Regions from separate parts of the Homo sapiens genome. Here regions 1 and 2 are each linked to region 3. The links are contacts of gene promoters, found by promoter capture Hi-C in blood cells and fetal thymus (Javierre and others, 2016). All regions are on one chromosome and are shown on one strand. Each heading gives the region's core, a stretch centred on a gene start or on the middle of the fragment in contact. The rest is flanking DNA. Distances are from core to core; before and after follow the strand shown. Region 1 overlaps SOS2 (SOS Ras/Rho guanine nucleotide exchange factor 2). Region 2 overlaps SOS2 (SOS Ras/Rho guanine nucleotide exchange factor 2). Region 3 holds the start of ARF6 (ARF GTPase 6).

Region 1 (2,774 bases), core at 244-2,743, 230 kb after region 3:
CTGTTGACTCAGGGGGAAATAGCTGATACAAAAGGTACGCCTATGAGGTTGGCAGATGGTGTGGGGAGGTTAGGCAGAGGATGTTCCTAAACACTCTGAACTGAACTGCTTATGAGACATCCAAGTAGATATGTCAAACTAATTATTCTATGTCAAAAATTGCTATCTCAGTCATGTGGCTCTGCAGTTACTTCTGCGGGGGTGTCCTGTTGGCTCAGGGGGAAATAGCTGATACAAAAGGTATGCCTATGAGGTTGGCAGATGGTGTGGGGAGGTTAGGCAGAGGATGTTCCTCAGACCTGCCAGCATTGTTTGTCCCGTCTTTGGGAGAACTCCTTTCGGTGGTGGTAAATCTGTCCCATTTGGTTTAGTTGGCCAATCCTGCCCAGGACACCCCAATTCAAGGCAAGGAATAGGCATGGGACTCACTTTCTTAACATGATCAGATTTTTATCTACCTCTCTTTCATGCAAGTAGCCATTTTTTTAGGGAAAGTGAACCTGACCCCTTAGCTCCAGGGATGGGGCCTAATTGGTATAAATCAATCAGAGTAATCCCATTCCTTTAGCCAGAGTGATGAGTTTAACTGTAGGCATGTAACCTAATTCAGACCAGTGAAATTTAAAAGGAGATATTCTGGGGGCTAATGGAAAGGAAGTTCCTTGCTCTTTTTTGGAAACGCATTCTGTCATACTGTCTTGTCTGTACTTCTCTCTATATATAATTTGACTGAACAAAGAAGCACACAACCTTTACTGCTCTTGCCAGTTATGATTTTGAGGGAAAACAGCTTTAAATCAAGCTGATAATCTGGACAAAACAATGAAGAGTGAAAAAGAACCCTGGGCTTTTTTTTTTTTTTTTTTTTTTGAGACGGTGTCTCGCTCTGTCGCCCAGGCTGGAGTCCAGGAACCCTGGTCTTTAATTACATCATCGAGTCACTGAATCAACCAGTCTTAAAGCAGCCTTCCTCTAGGCTTCCAAGTATGTCTGAGTGTTTTCTTATTGATTAAGCCAGTCTTAGGTGGTAACAGACACGCACACTCATGGAAGCAGATGATATGTGAATGATGGGAAAGCTATGAGAGCTCTGAATCTGGGTCTGACTCTACAGTCACCACTTAACCAGTATATTTCTCCACGGTAGGCAATCAATAACCCTTGCTGAAGTCTGAATGCAATTTAATTGTCTATCAAGAGCATTTCCCTACAAGACTACAGTCTTTATGAACTTTTTTAGTGCCTGCATTTATTCCAAACTGGTGAATATAGCAGAATTTACTAAACAATTTCTGTAATGTTAGTTAGCTATCTAAGTTACTTCTAATTTTCTGCCATTCATTCATTCATTCAACAGTTATTGGGCACCTGCTAATACTGTCAGGCACTGTCTGAAGCACTAGCAATATAACCGTGAACAAAACTCAAAAATTCACGTCCTTATGGAACTTATAATCTAGGTTAGGGAAAGATAAGTAAAAGTATGATGCCTATAAATTATGACAAGAAATATTTGGTTGGAAAGGGGTATAGAAAGAGGTGGGAGGGGAGCAACATAAATAGGGTGATTAGGGAAGGCTTCACTAAGGTAACAGCCTGAAGGAGGTAAGGGAGCAGGCTGTGAGGCTAAATGGCTGAAAAGTATTATAAACAGCAGGAATGGCAAGAGCAAAGCACTGATGCAATAATGTGTCTATTATGTTGAGGCAGACTGAGTGAAGGGGGAGAATAAGTGATGAGGTCTGACAGATCAAACAAGCCCAAACTGTGTAGGGCCTGTGCGTTCTTTAAAGGAACCGGCTTTCACTGTGAGTGAGATGGAAAGCCACCAGAGGGCTTTTTTTTTTTTTTTTTTGAGATGGAGTTTCACTCTTGTCGCCCAGGCTGGAGAGCAGTGGTGTGATCTCAGCTCACTGCAACCTCCGCCTCCCGGATTCAAGCAATTCTCCTGCTTCAGCCTCCTGAGTATGCTGGGATTACAGGTGCCTGCAACCAGGCCCAGCTAATTTTTGTATTTTTAGTAGAGACGGGGTTTCACCATGTTGGCCAGGCTGGTCTCCAACTCCTGACCTCAGGTGATCCGCCTGCCTTGGCCTCCCAAAGTGCTGGGATTACAGGGGTGAGCCACCGTACCCGGCCCACCAGAGGGCTTTAAGCACAAGTAAAACAAGGTCTAACTCAGATTCTAAAAGGATCATTCTGGCTGCTCTACTAAAAACATACTGAAGTGGAGAAGATAATAAGTCAGGATGCTTACTGTAATAAACAAGGTAAAAGTTATGGTGGCTTGGACCAGGGTGGCAGCAGTGGAGATGGCAAAAAATTGTTAGATTCTGGATATATTTTGAGAGTAGTCAAGATTTGTTGATAGGTCACATTTGGCGTGTGAGAAAGGGAGAGAAGTAAAAGATACTTCTATTACACTATTTTTAGCCTAAGTAACTGGATGCTTGTAATTAGAATGGAGATGAGGAGGCAGTGAGAGGAACAACTTTGGAGGGGATAATAAGAAGCTCAGTTTCAGACAGGTAAGGTTTGAGATTCCTATTAGATATCCAACTGGAGATGTTAAATGGGTAATTAAATATATGAGTCTAGAAGTCAGAAGAGAGGTTCTGGCTAGATATAAACTTGGGAATTATCATCATGTAAACGATACAAGACTGAACAACCAAGTGAGTGAGAAGAGGTCCAGAAACTGAGTCCTAAGGCCTTCCAATGTCAATAGTTTGGGAAGGTGAGGAGGAACCAGCAAGAGAGACCAAGCAGTGACA
Region 2 (2,700 bases), core at 28-2,527, 250 kb after region 3:
AAAATGTCAGTTCTTCACTAATCTGTAATTGGATTTAGAGAGCCAATGCAACTCCTATCAAAATGCCAATTTAAAAAAATGGAGCTTAAATTGATTCTAAAATGTATATAGGAGAACAAAGAACCAAGAATACGTTCCTCCTGAAAAAGAGTAAGATTGGCGAGGATTTGCCCTACTCTTCTCTATCAAGGACTACTATAAAGTTATGATAGTTTAGACTAGTGGCACTGGCACAAGAGTGATCAAATAGATCAAAGGAACAGAACAGAGAGACCAACAAAAGGCCTACAGATATAGGCATTCAATTTATGACACATTTATTAAATACATTAATATTTCTTTTTTTTTTTTTTTGAGATGGAATCTTGCTCTGTCGCACAGGCTGGAGTGCAGTGGTGCGATCTCGGCTCACTGGAACCTCTGCCTCCCGGGTTCAAGTGATTCTCCTGCCTCAGCCTCCCAAGTAGCTGGGATTACAGGCGCCCGCCAGCATGCCTGGGTAATTTTTATATTTTTAGTAAAGACGGGGTTTCATCATGTTGGCCAGGCTGGTCTCAAACTCCTGGCCTCATGTGATCCACCCACCTCAGCCTCCCAAAGTGTTGGGATTACAGGCATGAGCCACTGCCCCCGGCCTATTTCATAATATTTGACTAAGTATTAATATCTTTAACATATAAAGTTCATACAAATCAATAAAATGCAAACACCCAAACAGAAAAATATATGTATAAAGCAGTTTTTCCTCTATTCCCCTCTAATAACAACCCACTAAAAAAAATAAATAAATAATGTTAAAAGAGGAGTATGTAACCTCCCACATTATTCTCAATACTTATCCAGTTCCACTTAGAGGTTTGGGGTTTGCTCTGCTTTGTGATACTAAAATGGAATAATATTATAGTCATTCTGAAGCTTTTCCCCTGCTGAAATATCACAAATGTTCTTCCACAACAATACACATAGATCCCATTCACTTTGTTGTATAGCTGAACAATATTCTACAATAGAGGTATAAGAGGATGTATTTAATCATTCTCTTACTGATAGACATTCAGGTTGTTTCCTGTTTTCTGCTACTACAACTAATGCTGCAGTAACTATATCTTTGTACATATAACTTTATACTCTGGTGTGTTTATTTCTTTGCAATTCTGGGTCCTAAGAGTATGCACATTTTTAATTTTAACATATATTGTTAGACTGCTTTCCAGAAAGATTGTAAAAACGCACATTCCCAAAAGCAGTATTTATATGGCTGAGTTTCTAACTTGTTATCCTTTACTTAAAAAAAGTCTTTCCAGGTACAAAAGCAAAGGAAGAAACCATAAGTGAAGAGACTGATATGTGCAACTAAATAAAAATGATAAAACGTCCTTATGTCAAAGCATTATACATTTTTTAAATTAAAAAGCAGATAAAAGACAAACAGAAATGAGAATATATGTACAGTCTAAGTTTTAATATCTTTAATATATGAAAAATCCATATAAATGAATAAAATGCAGCTGGACATGCTGACTAATGCCTGTAATCGCAGCTACTCAAGAGGCTGGGACAGGACGATCCCTTGAGCCCAGGAGTTCGAGACTGCAGTGGGCTATGATCATGCCACTGGCACTCCAGCCTGGGTGACAGAGCAAGCTTGACTCTTTAGGAAAAAAAAAAAAAAAAAATCAACAAAATGAAAACACCCTCCCCCAAAAATGAGAGAGGCAATGAATACATAAATCATAAAGTACCCAATAAATACATATTCAACCTCACTAGTTATTATTTATTTTGAGAACAAGTTTCACTCTGTTGCCCAGGCTAGAGTGCAGTGGGGCAATCTTGGCTCACTGCAACCTCCACCAGGCAGGTTCAAGCGATACCCCTGCCTCAGCCTCCTGAGTAGCTGGGATTGCAAACCAGCACATACCACCATGCCTGACTAATTTTTGTACTTTTAGTAGAGATGGGGTTTCATCATGTTAGCCAGGCTGGTATCGAACTCCTGACCTCAGGTGATCCACCCGCCTCGGCCTCCCAAAGTGCTAGGATTACAGGTGAGCCACTGAGCCCAGCCTCACTAGTTATTTTTTAACATACAATTTAAAAATGCAGTGCGATTTCTGCCCCCGCCAGAGGCATGCAACACCATGCCTGGCTATTTTTTTTTTTTTTTTGTAGAGATGTGGTCTCCCTATGTTGCCCAGGCTGGTCTCAAACTCCTGGGCTCAAGTGATCCTCCTGTCTCTGCCTCCCAAAGTGTTGGGATTACAGGTGAGAGCCCCCACACCTGGCCAAAAGCTTTTAATATAATACATAATACCAAGGGGCATTTATCGTATCCTGCTACGAAACACCTTGGCAAAAGTATTTAAAGTCTTAAAGTATATAAATACTCAGACCCAGGATTTCCACCCCTAGATTATTTCTAGGGAAATAATCAAGCTCTTAAAAAGACTTCTACATATGAATATTCCATGATAAATTATCACAGAAAAAAATCAGAAATAACTTAATTGTCCCACAATCTACTGTTGGAATAAATTATGATTTATCCATGATAGAAAACCTTGATGCCATTAAAATCTTGTTTTTGAAGATAAGCTAATAAAAAAATAGAAAACTGTTTATGAGAAAAGGGCCATAAAAATCTATGCACAATGTAATCTCAATTTTGTTATTAAAATATATATGCAAAATATCTTCCTA
Region 3 (2,794 bases), core at 170-2,669:
TATAGCATCTTGCTTTTTAAACAAAGATACCCATTTCCTGTTTTTCTCCCCTTGATATTTGAAGGTTTCACGTTATTTTAAGTCTAATTTTATCATTAACCATTTGATACAAAAATGTGTCCTTGGCAGGGCGCAGTGGCTCACGCCTGTAATCCCAGCATTTTGGGGGGCCGAGGCGGGTGGATCACCTGAGGTCAGGACTTCGAGACCAGCCTGGCCAACATGGTGAAACCCCGTCTCTACTAAAAATACAAAAATTAGCCGGGCGTGGTGGTGGGCGACCTAATTCCAGCTGCTCCGGAGGCTAAGGCAGAACTGCTTGAACCCAGGATGAGGAGGCTGCAGTGAGCCGAGATTGTGCAACTGGACTCCAGCCTGGGCGACAGAGTGAGACCCCGTCTCAAGAAACAAACAAAAACCAAAAAACCAAAAATGTGCCCTGAAGTCTTCCACATTGTATTATTTAAGCCTCACGTGAGTTAGCAAGGTCAGTTTACACGAGATAAACTTAGTAAGGTTAAGTGCCCAGATCCAGGCCATACAAGCGGTCGTTCTATATTCTAAATTCTATGCTTCTTAAAGTTAAGAATGGGTAGTAGTTAAGAAGCTACTACTAACAGTATGAGATAAAATGATATTTTAAAGATGAACAGATGTCGCATTCTAAAAAGGTGAAAACGCGGCAAGGCACAGGAACTCTTCATAATACTGCAGTTTTTAAGAAACATGGGCTGGTCTTGACGAGACCTATAGGCAGACAGGGCTCAAACATTCAAAAGAGCTGCAGAGTAAACTCAACTCCGGGAAAGCGCTGCACTGACTGGCAGATTCCACACGAGACACTGGCCTCCCACGTGTCTTTCAGGAAACATACAAAATTCAAGGGATAAAGGAAGCCAAGAAGGGGTTGCGAAAAAGGGAAAAAAAAAAAAAACAAAAGCGAACAGAGCTTCCCTGGGACGTTCAGGGAGCGCGGAGGGTGCGGGAAGGCTGGGGCGGGCGGAGGGAATTCGCAGAGCATCTGGCGGGCACCGAGGTCTGGGAACAGGCCTGGAGGCAGCTCGGTTCGTGGAGAGAGCGGGCTGCCCGTGGGCCCCACCCTGTAGGGCCCCCCAGTAGATCTGCTCCCTTGGTTCGGGTGGGCAGGGGAGGGCAGAGCGCAAAAGAGAAAAGCAGGGAAGGAGACGCTAGAAGAGCCACGGGTAGGCGCGAGTCAGAGTCCGAGGTTCGAGGGCTCTGGGCCGGCCGCATCTGCGAGCCCTCCGAGGCGCCGTAGCCCCGCCCCTCCGGCGCGTGGCGCCCATGACGCTAGGCGCGCGGGCCGCTCTCCTTACAGAGGTCGCTCTTGTCCGAACGGTCGGCCTCTGCTGCGCCTGCGTGGTCGGGAGGGGAAGTGAGGCGGTTTCCTCGGCGCCTTTTCCGGCAGCGGCGGCGGCAGAACTGGGAGGAGGAGTTGGAGGCCGGAGGGAGCCCGCGCTCGGGGCGGCGGCTGGAGGTAACCCCTTGGGCCGAGCTGGAAAGGCGGGCCACCTCGGTCTTCGCTCCTTTGTGGAGCTCTGGCAGTAACTCCCCTCCCTCTCTGTTTCTCTGCAGGCAGCGCACCGAGTTCCCGCGAGGATCCATGACCTGACGGGGCCCCGGAGCCGCGCTGCCTCTCGGGTGTCCTGGGTCGGTGGGGAGCCCAGTGCTCGCAGGCCGGCGGGCGGGCCGGAGGGCTGCAGTCTCCCTCGCGGTGAGAGGAAGGCGGAGGAGCGGGAACCGCGGCGGCGCTCGCGCGGCGCCTGCGGGGGGAAGGGCAGTTCCGGGCCGGGCCGCGCCTCAGCAGGGCGGCGGCTCCCAGCGCAGTCTCAGGGCCCGGGTGGCGGCGGCGACTGGAGAAATCAAGTTGTGCGGTCGGTGATGCCCGAGTGAGCGGGGGGCCTGGGCCTCTGCCCTTAGGAGGCAACTCCCACGCAGGCCGCAAAGGCGCTCTCGCGGCCGAGAGGCTTCGTTTCGGTTTCGCGGCGGCGGCGGCGTTGTTGGCTGAGGGGACCCGGGACACCTGAATGCCCCCGGCCCCGGCTCCTCCGACGCGATGGGGAAGGTGCTATCCAAAATCTTCGGGAACAAGGAAATGCGGATCCTCATGTTGGGCCTGGACGCGGCCGGCAAGACAACAATCCTGTACAAGTTGAAGCTGGGCCAGTCGGTGACCACCATTCCCACTGTGGGTTTCAACGTGGAGACGGTGACTTACAAAAATGTCAAGTTCAACGTATGGGATGTGGGCGGCCAGGACAAGATCCGGCCGCTCTGGCGGCATTACTACACTGGGACCCAAGGTCTCATCTTCGTAGTGGACTGCGCCGACCGCGACCGCATCGATGAGGCTCGCCAGGAGCTGCACCGCATTATCAATGACCGGGAGATGAGGGACGCCATAATCCTCATCTTCGCCAACAAGCAGGACCTGCCCGATGCCATGAAACCCCACGAGATCCAGGAGAAACTGGGCCTGACCCGGATTCGGGACAGGAACTGGTATGTGCAGCCCTCCTGTGCCACCTCAGGGGACGGACTCTATGAGGGGCTCACATGGTTAACCTCTAACTACAAATCTTAATGAGCATTCTCCACCCATCCCCTGGAAGGAGAGAAATCAAAAACCCATTCATAGGATTATCGCCACCATCACCTCTTTCAATTGCCACTTTCTCTTCTTTTGAATTTGAACTCTGGAGTTACTGTTCTACAGTTTGGCGGGGACGGGGCTTGGGGGTTTTCTCTTTTGTTTGTTTCCCTTTCTTTTTCCTTT

What was found. The method cuts DNA at HindIII sites, captures the fragments that hold promoters and counts their contacts. A CHiCAGO score of 5 or more calls a contact.
Region 1: a contact is called between a fragment that was not itself captured here and the fragment with the promoter of ARF6 in region 3, in 8 of 17 cell types (naive CD8 T cells, non-activated CD4 T cells, monocytes and 5 more). The highest score is 8.6, in naive CD8 T cells.
Region 2: a contact is called between a fragment that was not itself captured here and the fragment with the promoter of ARF6 in region 3, in 3 of 17 cell types (total CD4 T cells, non-activated CD4 T cells and total B cells). The highest score is 7.3, in total CD4 T cells.

Annotation. Positions count from the first base shown.
Region 1 is chr14:50,121,544-50,124,317 of GRCh38, forward strand. All of the region lies in intron 21 of SOS2 (SOS Ras/Rho guanine nucleotide exchange factor 2), which reads right to left. Among named protein-coding and RNA genes, the nearest start is that of VCPKMT, 6.4 kb to the left of the region's middle. The HindIII fragment of the contact is 5,022 bases long and covers 1-2,774 here.
Region 2 is chr14:50,141,672-50,144,371 of GRCh38, forward strand. The region is part of intron 16 of SOS2 (SOS Ras/Rho guanine nucleotide exchange factor 2); the gene reads right to left. Among named protein-coding and RNA genes, the nearest start is that of VCPKMT, 26 kb to the left of the region's middle. The HindIII fragment of the contact is 729 bases long and covers 914-1,642 here.
Region 3 is chr14:49,891,663-49,894,456 of GRCh38, forward strand. It overlaps ARF6 (ARF GTPase 6), which reads left to right and starts at 1,420. Exons shown (of 2, transcript NM_001663.4): 1 at 1,420-1,495; 2 at 1,594-2,794. The coding sequence starts at 2,075. The coding sequence ends at 2,602. RefSeq lists enhancers at 980-1,079, 1,950-2,269, 2,300-2,349 and silencers at 1,170-1,559, 1,600-1,789. The HindIII fragment of the contact is 6,329 bases long and covers 1-2,794 here.